Linked DNA regions of Homo sapiens: region 2 is linked to region 1. Evidence: promoter capture Hi-C in 16 types of primary human blood cells and fetal thymus (Javierre and others, 2016). All regions are on one chromosome and are shown on one strand. Each heading gives the region's core, a stretch centred on a gene start or on the middle of the fragment in contact. The rest is flanking DNA. Distances are from core to core; before and after follow the strand shown.

Region 1 (6,284 bases), core at 1,233-3,732:
GTTTAATATTTTTTTTTAAAGTAAACGATGCCTGCAGGGAAACACTGACATTATAGGGGACAAGTTTGGGATTACAATGCATAGTACATTCCACCATCATGTTATTAATGAAAAAGGTTAAGTATTTATAAAAAGTAATTATTATTGTAAAACTGAGTCACGAGATTATAATTAAGGCAGAACTCCATAAACCAAAACCTAATTCTCAGTTTAGTTAAAAATAATAAAGACTTAACTGCACTACAAAGTCATTATACAAAACAAATTCAGTCTTAAACTCTAATGCCTGCTTCATCCATGGAATGTAGAGATCAAAAAGTTTCCCTTGAAGCTACTGGTGCTACCTAGAGTAGCCATGTATCATATCAACGATTCAAAGCACAGTTACAAAATAAACAGAATTCTGCCTACAACATTGGGTAGCAAGTAGTGGGCCTATCATAAGGTTGTAAAATGTAAATTTAAAAATGTAAATGTATAGTTTTGTGGTATAAATGTTTTTTAAAGGATATTTTGATCCAATGTCTCCAAAAAAACTTTCTATTAATACATACTGAGAAATGGTTGCTGAATAGTTTTTTTCAAGATCACACACACTTAACAAATCATCTTTAAAGACCAAGTTGTATGAATAGAATATTGGTAAATCAGTTAGTTATTTACAGTTGCTATTCTACACCTGGCAATACTAACTATATCTTAGGTTCCTTTTCTTTTTAAAAAATTTACCTAAGTATGAATCTTCAGGCCTTATCAGTCCTGATATTACCAGTAAACCTAGAATTGTCTAAAATACAATGGGATAATAAGCAGATACATTGACCACTTTGGCCAAAATCTTATTAATCTTATTTTTTAATTAAGATGCCTTTTTAAGGTCCTACTACATACTAAATATAATTTCATTTAATTTTGAGCCATATATGAACGGTGGAAGAAAATTATTATTAGTCCCACTTCACAGATAAGAAACCTGAGGCTCAGAAAAATAAGAGACATGCCCAAGTCCACATAGCTACTAAGTGCTAGATATTAGGATTTGACTACAAAGTTCACACCTTTATATCAAAACTTGCCTATTTGTTACATAAAAGAAAGATATCTGACTGTCCATTTATTACATGTGGACACTGCGTGTATAGATTTAAAAATTAATGTGAAAAGTAACATTTATTTATAAGGCCATGCAGAATAAATTGGTATATGCTAATAATATCCATTTCTTCAATTTACCATTTTTCTTAGAATACTAAATAAATTAGGGAGTACTGTGCTTTCCTCACGCTACAGACATGGTATACTGCCATACTAACCATAGATCACAGCATATGAAATATACTATGCACTGTTTTTAGAAGCTGAGTACTATACTTAAACTCCAATATAAATTCTAGTCTTCTTTGGAAAGTACTGATGCTACCGCTGCCGTTGAGAAATAAGATCATATAAAGTGAAATAATGAAATGAAAAGACCATATTTGAATTTACCTTGTGTATAATTCCCATATGATAACCAGATAAAATTTCATCTCAATTTCCAACTTCAAAACATTACAAAGTTAGGATTCCTTGAAACCCAATACTGCTTGTAAGTAAACTGCTCACACTGACAAAATGATAGATGAAGAGAAACATACAGGAAACATCGGGGAGTAAGAAATAAACCACCTATGACTCAAGTGGTGAAAGACATTTCACGTTCCATATATCTGGTTGCACTATTAAGGAAAAATTAAAACGAAAATATCAAAAAACTAGAAGCTTGGAGAGTTCCAACATATCTTCCATTTCATGCCTTCTCTTTATAACTAATTTAATTTTTTTTTTGGTCTATTTGAGGGATTTCTCAAAACAAAACACAATTTAACATTCGGATGGGCTAAAGCTGTCCAGGTAATAGGTGTCTGTGATTACTTTAGTCATGTAACTGTCCTTTCCGTAGCTTTGACTAAAACACCAGCAATGAAAACCTTGTGCCACCGGGTGGAGGGGGCAAATCGTCTTGAAAGCCTCCCACCGCCTGGCACCAGGTGCTGGGGCAGAGCCAAGGGGAGCTGTGTACTTAGCTCCTTTTTTGGCGATGGCTTTGGTCTCGGCCACTTGCCCCTCCGTCGGGCTCCCCTGGCCCCCTACACTTTCTTTCCCCTCATCCGACGCTCTCGCTCCCATCCCACTCCCATTCAGGGTCCACAGGGTACTGAAGGGGCCCTGAGAGATTTCCCGACCCACCTCAGAGCTTCTCTTCCTCGCCTCAACTTTCCCGGGGTCGGGCCTGGGAGACGGCGCCCACCCGCCTCCTCCACACCACGGGGCCCGACTTCCGTCCCCCAGTGTCGCTCATCCTCCCTAGCCACTTACCGACTCAAAATCCACGGGGATTTCGGGGCAGCAGCGTCGCCGCGCTCAGCCCACACGCGGAGGCCGAGCGCCCTGCTGCCCGTCGGGGAACGGCTCCTGCCGCTGGTCCGCTGGCTGACCGCGGTGGCGGCGGCGGGGGGCGAGGGGCGGGGGGCGAGGGGCGGGGGGCGGGGCGGGAGGCGGCTCCGAGGGGCACGAGGCGGGCCCAGGGCGGGCGCGGGGCGTGGCCTCGGGCGCTGAGCCTCGAGAGCAGCCGCACCCCTGCCGGGGTAGAACCGTTAAAAGGGTGGCGCGCGCTTTCCCGGGCGAGCTGGGCGCGTGGGGTTGGAGCGGCGCCACCCAGAGCCGGTCGTCTAGGGTAGGAGGCCGCGAGTGAGGCGCTGACAGGCTAGCCCTCGACGGGGCGCGCCCGCGTGAACGGCCTTGGGGGCCCCAGACCGTGGCCCTGCTTGTGCGAAGACTGGGAGGCGCCAGGCGGGCCGCCTGCTGGGGGCTTGGCGGCGGGTTCCAGGCAGCGTCTGTGAGGGAGGCCGCCTCTGTGAGGGAGGCCGCCGTCGTGCTGACGACTGAGTCCACCCTACTCCTGTCCCCCGTCAGAGCTGCTGGCAGGCGCTGCTTTCCCCTTGGTGCATTTAGTGGGTGTCGGGATTCGGGTTGGCAGGGAGGAAGATGTTTGAGACCTGGTTTACCTCAGACCAGGGATACAGCGTTTCACACAGACTGCCATCCTGAAAGGAACAAAATGAATTAAGGCAACTCCATCCGAATCATTTCTTTTTAATCTTCACCTTCAATCCTTTTGCTAATTTTTCATTATCTTTGAGTGTCCCCAGAGGGGGACTGTCTGCTTGTACTGAGGGACGTGGAGGTGGCAGTCCCTCACGTCCCCAAGCACCAAAAGGACAGTTGAAAATGCACTGGCAAACACTGAACGGTTTTAAGTGGGGCACTATCAGGATTTACCATTTTGGAAGGTATGAAGTTTCACAAGCACTTCCATGTATAGTCAAGTTATTGGAGCTGTCTCCGTTTAGAAATGGCTTCCAGAAACACTCCTACTATCCACTGAGACAACTCGCCTGGCATCAGAGACCTAGGGTCCAGGGTCAGAGATGGGTCATGATAAAAGGGCATCCCTTGGGGTGAGGCACCAGAAGTCTGCACAGTGGAATCAATATATTCCAACCACCAGATGTAGAAAATCTTAAGTGCAGGATGTGGTTCTCATCCATCTAGTCACAACAGAAGTTTTCTTCTTCAGGAATATACTTAACAATGAAGCATGTATAATTTTATATACATCTTACAATAAAATTATTTTGTGCATATCACTGTATGAAGTCAGTAGAAACTATTGTGACAAAAATGTAAATTGGAAGAATTCCAATTCAGATCAGTATTAGTAATTTATTGAGAGGAAGAGAGAAATTAGACTAGACAGACTCCTTGATTTTTTGATAATTGAGGAAGAAAAATGAACCATATAAACATATCGAAACTTTTCAAAATCTTATTGATAATGACATAAAATTTTGGCATCTACAAGGATAATCTAGAATTCATACCTTTACAACAAGAACTTGACAACAAACAGGTTAATGACTTTTAGCAACTTAAAGGTTAGTCACTGCCTGAGAAAACTTGAAGTGCCCTGAAATCACAGAGTTCACCTAAGAACCTTAAGATGAGTTTCCCCAAATTTAGCAATACTAAAAATTGGCATTATTACCAATAACAAATTGTGAAACTGCAATAACTTTTTTAAGCTTTCAATAACAAAAAATACATGTTGACTAACTTTGCTTTGAAAAGACTACCACATTATTCATTATCACCAGGGAAAGTGCATTACAAAATTACTGTCAAATGATGAGGCAATAAAAAAATGAAAACTAAAAATATAGGAAAAACATAGCAATGGTTCAGGTAGTTAATTTAAAATATCATTTTACTGAATTTCTAAAATATTTGTGGTATTTATCATCTTTTTAAAAATCTGTAATTTGTTGTCACTGATTTTCTTATTCTAAGTAAATATTTACTTTGGTCACCGCCCCCCATCCCTGCTTCCTGCCCTGCTCTGGCCACTCAAAGAATTGGAGAATGGATTGAGAAAAAGCAACAGTGGAAATAGATATCCCAGTTAGAAGGATAATAATTTATAATGTGTCTTACTACTTATAAGTAGAGGTTTTATTTAAACTTATATTTTCATATTTTATTTAACTCCACTTTCACAGTACCTAGAACTACACACACACACATACAAACTGGTTACTTGATCTCATGGTATGTGCTGTTTAGTGAGGGTGCAGATATGCAAACAGACAATTTCAACTCAGTAAATTAATTGTTAAATCTGGGTGGTGCCACTGAAAGCCTGGCAACTCAGAAAGCTGAAGAGGTAGCATTATCTCATGTTTACCAAATGATTTCCTTGCCAACCTCCTGCCAATAGTCGCCTTTTATTCATTTATTCCTCAAACATTTACGAAGCATTTTATGAAGGATACACTAACAAACACACAACACAGATGCTCATAATTATTATAGGAATGTGTTAAAACAGTGGTCCCCAACATTGTTAGCACCAGGGGCTGGTTTCGTGGATGACTGGAAGGGCGGGGTATGGTTTTGGGATGAAACTGTTTCACCTCAGATCATCAGGCATTAGATTCTTATAAGGAGCACACGACCTAGATCCCTCGCATGTGCAGTTTACAATAGGGTTCACACTCCTATGGGCCACTGTTGATCTGACAGGCAGCAGAGCTCAGGCAGTAATGCCAGCAATGGGGAGGGGCTGTAAATGCAGATGAAGCTTCAGTCACTCACCTGCCACTCACCTCCTGCTGTGTGGCTTGTTTCCTAACAGGCCAATGACCAGTACCAGTCTGGGGTCTGGGGGAGGGCAGTGGTTAGAAACCCCTGTGTTAAAAGCTATAATAATGACTTAGTTTCATTCAGCTCAGTTCAGCTCAGCAAAGGTTTTGAAGACCTATGTTTATGTGCTAGAAACTGAGGATACAAAGACAAACTGAAATACGACGAGAAAGGCTGATACACACTGAGGTTACAAAGAAAAACTGAAATATGATGAGAAAGGCTGATGCAAAATTAGCAAGAAGAGAACGCTAGCTTAATAATAGTGCCTATATATGAAATAGAAGATAGTATATGTAGTAGAAATGTTTACGTGGAATAAAAGAAGGACTACATGGAAAGGCATACTTCTGTTGAACGGTAGGAGGATGGAGAAGAGACATCACGAAAGGGTTCACAGGGGAGGTAATGCCTGAGCAGGATTTTTAAGGATAAAACATTTACCCACTTAGAAAAGGGTATTCCTTGCAGGTGAAAGAACAAGCCCAGAGATATACAGGAATAGAGCAGCAGCCAATAAAATAAAACATCAGTAATTCAGTACTGCAGAAACACAAAATACAAGAGACTGCCTGGTAGTGGCTTGATATTAGGCTAATAAAAGATGAAGTGTCTTTTATCTCCTTTATAAGGATATGGAGAGACACTGAAGGATTTTAGTTTGGGTTTAATAGTATTCTATGACCATTTGGGAAAAAATTACTTAAATGACAACATGAAAAATGGATTGGGAAGCAGAGTAGGCATCAGGCAAGACAAGAAGAGAGGCAGAGGAATCGGTTCAGAGGTTTACAGTAATCCAGGCAATGTTTATTGAGAGCCATAAGTAAAGGTAGATAGTGACCATAAGGAAAGAAAAGTACACATAGCTGAGAGAATAAGGAAAACTGCTAACAGTGTAGAGTGTGAGAGTGGAAAGTGGAAAATAGTGATGCCAGTTATTGACTTGCGCACCCAGAGCGATACAGGAAAAAAATAAAAAGATACTGTGATTTGCCTGAGGAGGCACAAGAGAATGGGATCTAGATTGTAGGTGAAGGGAA
Region 2 (6,249 bases), core at 2,296-4,795, 950 kb before region 1:
ATGGGAGAGTTCAACCTCATCTGTTAAAATTTCTTAGAGCAACTGTGTACCTTATTTTGATGTTTTTTGAAGATAAGGTAAAGGTAAAGCGATTTGAGAATTTTGAAAATAAATTAGTTTTTCTTTCTAAGTAGTAATTAGAAATTTCTTGGCAAGGCAGTAGTAGTTACATAGTAGTTAAGAGTGCAGGCTCTAGAGCTTAACTGCCAAGTTCCAATCCTGGTTAATACTTATTAGTCCTATCAACTTGGACAGATTAGCTTGCTGTGCCTGTCTTTTCTGTAAAATAATGTTGATAATAAAGCCTTCCTCCTAGGATTGCTGTAATGATTATAAGAGCTAGTGTCTATAAAGTGTTAAGAATAGTTCCCGGGGCAGACTAGTACTCAATAAATGTTAGTTATGAAAGAAAATGTTAAGTTTCCTCCAAGATAAATGTATTTTTACCACGTCTTTTACAAGGGGACTATCAACTATCTGAAACTTAGGTTTTGACTCATAATTAAAATTAGTTAGAAAAACCAGAGCCCTGATATCCCTTCTTACTATAATTAAACTTAAAAATAGCAGCCTACATGAGGGACATATTTATATTAAATGTTTAAATGAGAAAAGTGTTTCCTTAGTAGATAATATTATTTATGTAGGGTTATTCTAGTTTTTAAATGTTATAGTCCTATTTTGAGTAGCTTTTAGAGAATTAAGGATTTTTAGATTTTCATATGGGCTCTCATTGAAAAATGGCTCGGAGACAGGTATCCTCTGTGCCCTCATCAAAAAGACAGAGAAGTTTGTCTTCTTACCATGATTGTCAGTAAGATTAATTGCTAGCAATAATAGTAGAAGAGTTAGAACTGCAACCAACAGCTCAGTTGTGTATTTAGGCATACAAGGAGTTCAGTGTTGCTTATATGTGACATATAATGCCTGGAGGGGTAGGAGATGAGGCCAAGCAATGTGGTCTTTATCCTTCGGTGATAGGTAAAGTTAAACAAGGATTAAAAAAAAATTAAGATACTTTATTTCTGTTTGTTGGAAAGTTGACATAATACACTATACTAGTCCCCCATTGTGGGGACCACAAATGACCACAAACTTAACAGCTTAATATATCATATGCTTATAATTTTATAATTCTGTTTTTTTCAAGTAAATGCACAGAGTTGCTTGGCTGGTTTCTCTGCTTCAGATCTTATAGGCTAATATCAGGGAGTCACCCAGCAGAGCTCATGTCTTGGAGGCTCTAGAAAGAGTCTGTATCCAGGCTCATTTAGGTCGTTGGAAGAATCAAGTTTCTTGTGGTTGTAGGACTGAAGTGTATATGTTCATGGTTACTGTCAGCTTAGGGCCACCCTATCTCCTAGGGACCTCTCTCTGATCCTTACATAGGGACTGGTACATCTCAGAGCCAGCAATACCACAATATGTCTTTCTCATGCTTAGGGACTGACTTTCTCTTCTACCACATCTCTCTTGCCTGCTCCTTAAAATTCATCTTTCTGACTACAGCCAGAGAAAGTTGTCTGTTTTTAAGAGTTCACGTGATTAGACTGTGTTACTTGGATAATCCCAGAAAGGCCCCTCTCTTAAATCCTGTAATCTTTCTTAATGTCTTCAAAGTTATTTTGCCAAGTAAAATAAGAAATTCAGTTCTTAGGAATTAGGGCATGGGATCTTTAAGTGGGGCCATTCTGCCCACATATATTTCTTATCTTGTTAGAAAGGAAACCCTCAGAACAACAAGAATATTTTGAAATAAGTAAATAATCATGTAATATCTGTAATGTAAAACATGCTTCCTTAGATATGGCACCCTTATGCACTGCTCAACCATGTGTAGCAGCCCTGACCTACCGGCCGTTCAACAAATTCTTGGATGTGTCTGTGAAACTAGGGGGCTGGGTTGCCTGTTGGAGTTACCTTCCATTCTGGTGATGTTTCCTAACGCAACTTGCCAAATTATTAATACACAGCTAGTAAATGGCAGTCTTTTTGCATGAGAGCGGAAGAGTAATAGGTGGAATCAACAACAGCAGTAAATTAACAAGTAATCCTTAGAATCTAATGACATTTGCTGGATACGCCCTATGTTCCTGTTTTACAGGTGATAAATCTAGGGTCCAGAGCAGGGATGCGACTTCCCCAGTCTCATAGCTACACAGCTAGTAAATAGTGGAATCAGTTTCTGAGCCCAGGTGTCTATACTATTCCCCTTCTGTTGGTCATTGGAACTAAATTTGTTTAGTGATTCTTTCAATTCATAGTTTGTATTGAAACCAGATTTTAGAACTTTTGAATCTTCTTTTGAAATTAGATCATAATCTTGCACATATCATAGCTTTTTTGATAGATAATATGATTTTTGATGTTCTTTTATTACTATTTTTTTCCATTTCAAAATAACAAAGGATGGACTAACATAATATTTATTTCATTTATTGCTTCCCTTCTCTATTTTCTTAACCTCATTAATAATATAGATTCATTTCTGTTGTCTGCTCTGAGCTGTTAGAAACTTGACTTTTATAAAGCTTTTCCATGAGCAGTTATTCTAACTGAAATAATGGGCCTCTGTACAAGAAGGAAAATATATGTGACTAACCCTGGGGATCTAGGAATTCTTTACTTTGCACTTTAGCACCACTGTTCATTTTTTTGAAGCCGATAATTGTTTCACCTTGCAGCATTAATGCTATTGGAACAGTGCAGTTTCAAACCTTTATCTCCCTTTTACACTCATGAGAATTAAAAGCTGCAGTATATTATTCTAAGAGGTGGGCTACCCAAATTTTCTAGGCTGAGAAAATAAAACCTTAAAGGGATAAAAAGAATAGTAAAATAACTTTCATTTCAGCATCTAAATTGTAGTAGGATGGCTTAACTCCTTTCCCACACTTGGAGAAATGTATTTGTTCAGTCTTAGTTGAAAGATAGTGCACTTTCCATTGGAGCATTTGCTTTGTATTTGCCACTTTTAAAGCAGTTTTTTTTCTTTTGTAATTTTGCTATAAGAATGATACAGTTAGCATCTGTTGTCAATGTACTGTAATGGAGCCCACTAATGTTCTACATCCCTCCTCTTTCATGGAGTACGATTTTGGAAGCAAAGTAATTTTCAGCAATCTGAAAGGCTGTTTGATATATAGAAGGAGTTACCAGAATGATTAACATAACCATTCTTATTTTTTCCTATCCTCAAAATGGTACTCCTGCCCCCTCTTCCACCCCCGTGTTTCCCAGGATGTGCTGAGTTTTCTTTCTACTCTGGAACATGCTGAGAGAAAGAGAAACTAAATATATGGAGCAGAGAAAAAACTTATCTGAATATTCTTCAAAATACTTTCCTTGTAGTCCTTCAAATTTAAATTTCTAAAAGTATTTGCTGTTATGTAAAAGATGTAAACTTATTTTGATCCTTTTGCAAATATTAAGTATTGTCTTATCCCGTGTTATGAATAAATAAGAAGTAGAGAAATCACTGATTTCTCAGGACCTAAAGATTACCCTTTTAAGCCTTTATTTGTTTATTTATTTATTTGTTTGTTTGTTTATTTATTTATTTTTTGAGATGGAGTCTCACTCTTGTCACCCAGACTGGAGTGCACTGGCATCATCTCGGCTCACTGCATCCTCTGCCTCCTGGGTTCAAGTGATTCTCCTGCCTCAGCCTCCTGAGTAGCTGGAATTACAGGCATGCCCTACCACACCTGGCTAATTTTTGTATTTTTAGTACAGGCAGGATTTCACTATGTTGGCCAGGCTGGTCTCGAACTCCTGACCTCAGGTGATTTGCTCCCCTTGGTCTCCCAAAGTGCTGGGATTACAGGCATGAGCCACTGTGCCTGGCCTTATTCAGTTAATTTATTGAGAACCTGCTGTGTCCTAGACACTATTGACCACTGTATATGCAGTATCACTTTGTAATATAGCTTTTATACAATCATTTTAAAAAGAAATTTAGAAAACAAGAAAAAATATTTTATATTTACCTACATATTTACTATTTCTTTCCTTTTGACAATCTCAGTTTCTCTATAATATCATTTTCATATCACCTTGATTTTTGAAGGGTATTTTTGATGGATATGGAATTCAGAGTTAAGTTTTATCTTTCAACACCTTAAAAATATAACTCCATTGTCTTCTAGCTTACATTATTTTTAGAAATGAGAAGACAATGAAAATTTTTGTCTGTGTTTGTGTATTTTTATTGCTTATTTTTACCTTTGGCTGCAATTAGGATTCTATATATCATTGGTTTTCAGTTATTGATTATGATAATGTATTGATTTTTTTCCCTGTTTATCCTGCTTGGGATTCATTTAGCTTTCTGCATTGTAAGTTATAGTTTTTACCAAATTCGGAATTTTTTTAGTCCTTATTCAAGTGCTTTTTCTTCCTCTGTGACTCTAACTATACGTTTGTTAGAATGCTAGATACTGTTCCATAGGTCAGTGAGGTTCTGGGTTTTTCCTCAGTTTTTTTTTTCCCATTTGTCTTTCATTTTGGATAGTTTATATTGCTGTGTCTTCAGATTCATGGATCTTTTCTTCTACAGCTAAGCTTATTTGTTCAATTTTTCCTTTCAGATGCTGTATTTTTCTGCTGTAGAAGCCATATTGGTTTCTATTTTGTATTTTCCATTTTTCTCATCATATAAATATTTTCAGTGAAATCTTTTAAAATATTTGTAATAGCATTTAAAAGGCTGTTTGTCTGCTACATCTGTCTTCTCTGTCATTTCTGGGACTCTTTGTCTATTAATCATTTTTCTCCTTGTTAGGTTTCTGTGTCTTTTTATGTGCAGTAATTTTTTATTGCATGCTGTGAATGTTATGTTGTTGTTCTGTGTTTGTGTCTGTGTGTATTTTAATTTTCTTTTGAGGTGTGTGGTTTTTTTTATTTTGGAAAGCTTCTAAATTACTTATGCATCAGCCTAATCATTTTTAAGGGTCATTTTAAAGCTTTATTTCAGCAAGTATATAGTAGTCCTTACTTTGGGGCTAATTTAACCCTCCTACTAAGGCATTTTTTTTTCTGAGCTCTCTACTGAAAGCTCTGGATGTTCAGTGAAGCTGCTTAGAACTCCCATGTCTCCCAGCCCTATGCAAGCTCTGGGAATTGCATCACTTACAGCTTCCTAGTAGTTGTTCTTTGCCTGGCCTCAATGGAATCTCACACTAAACATGTACAGCTTATTTGTCTAAAGACTCTTTGAGACTCCATGCAGCTTTATGGAGTTCTATTAATATCTCTGCCTACTTTCCTCCTTGGAGGAACTCTTAGAAACCTTAGTTTCCTCAGGCTCCCCAAACCGATCTCTATCTTCTTAACTCAGTGTGAATGCCATTTTCTGCTTAGATTCCTCCTCCTCATCCTTCCATCTATATAGTATCTTTAGGCAAAAAGCTAGGGTATCTCAGGGCTTAGTCATTTTCCTTCTATCAGAGTCATAGTCCTTCCCTGCCTGCTGTGCAGTATCTGTATATAATTGTAGCATATGTCTTACTCAGTTTTCTTGATGTTTACAGCAGAAGGGTAAGTTCATTATGGCTGGAGGCAGAAGTCCCTGCTAGTTTAAGTTTAATTCTGATTTATTCTTATTCAAGTAGTACTTAGTTAATGGGAATCCTGACCAGCTGATTATACAAGGTGCAATAGGGGCATGCCTCTGAGATTTGGGCTTTCGTATTGACTCGCCAGGCATACATTCCAAGTAAGTGCAGATTGGGCCATCCTAAATCATAAGATTAGTAGCAAGACATATCAATTTTCTTAGGTTACTCTCTCATTAATTTAGAGTGAGTGAAGTTTTAAAAAATACTTTAGTTTTTCTTATACCCTCTTTAATCAGATCCCATTTTTATAAATAATGTTTTCCTTATGTGTAGTGATACATCTATATTGCTAATCAACTGTATCCTTTTAAAATTTCAGGAGCAGCATTTCTTTCTATTACTACTATCTATGCTGAGACTGGTTCAGGTTTTGTAGTACCAAGTGCTTCTGCCAAAGCAGGTGTGGAAGCCATGAGCAAGTAAGTACTTCCTTGTCAATCCTGTTGCTGAACATAACTAATACAGTTGGTGGCTCAGGGAACTGTATTCCTGCTTTCTGGTGTCCATCCAGAGAAAAGTAAACAAAGACTTGGATTCACCATGAGACATACATTTTATCTCCCAGATAAGTCCTATTTGTCTATAGCAGCGCTGTCCTGTGGAACTTTCTGCAGTGATGTAAATGTTCTGT

Evidence for each region. The method cuts DNA at HindIII sites, captures the fragments that hold promoters and counts their contacts. A CHiCAGO score of 5 or more calls a contact.
Region 2: a fragment that was not itself captured here is called in contact with the fragment with the promoter of C8orf88 in region 1 in 4 of 17 cell types (naive CD8 T cells, total CD4 T cells, non-activated CD4 T cells and 1 more); the score reaches 5.4 in naive CD8 T cells.

What each region holds. Positions count from the first base shown.
Region 1 is chr8:90,982,756-90,989,039 of GRCh38, forward strand. It overlaps C8orf88 (chromosome 8 open reading frame 88), which reads right to left and starts at 2,483. Exons shown (of 6, transcript NM_001190972.2): 1 at 2,359-2,483. RefSeq lists a silencer at 2,507-2,666. The HindIII fragment of the contact is 2,363 bases long and covers 1,760-4,122 here.
Region 2 is chr8:90,030,904-90,037,152 of GRCh38, forward strand. DECR1 (2,4-dienoyl-CoA reductase 1) reads left to right here. Exons shown (of 10, transcript NM_001359.2): 6 at 5,938-6,037. Among named protein-coding and RNA genes, the nearest start is that of DECR1, 33 kb to the left of the region's middle. The HindIII fragment of the contact is 2,032 bases long and covers 2,530-4,561 here.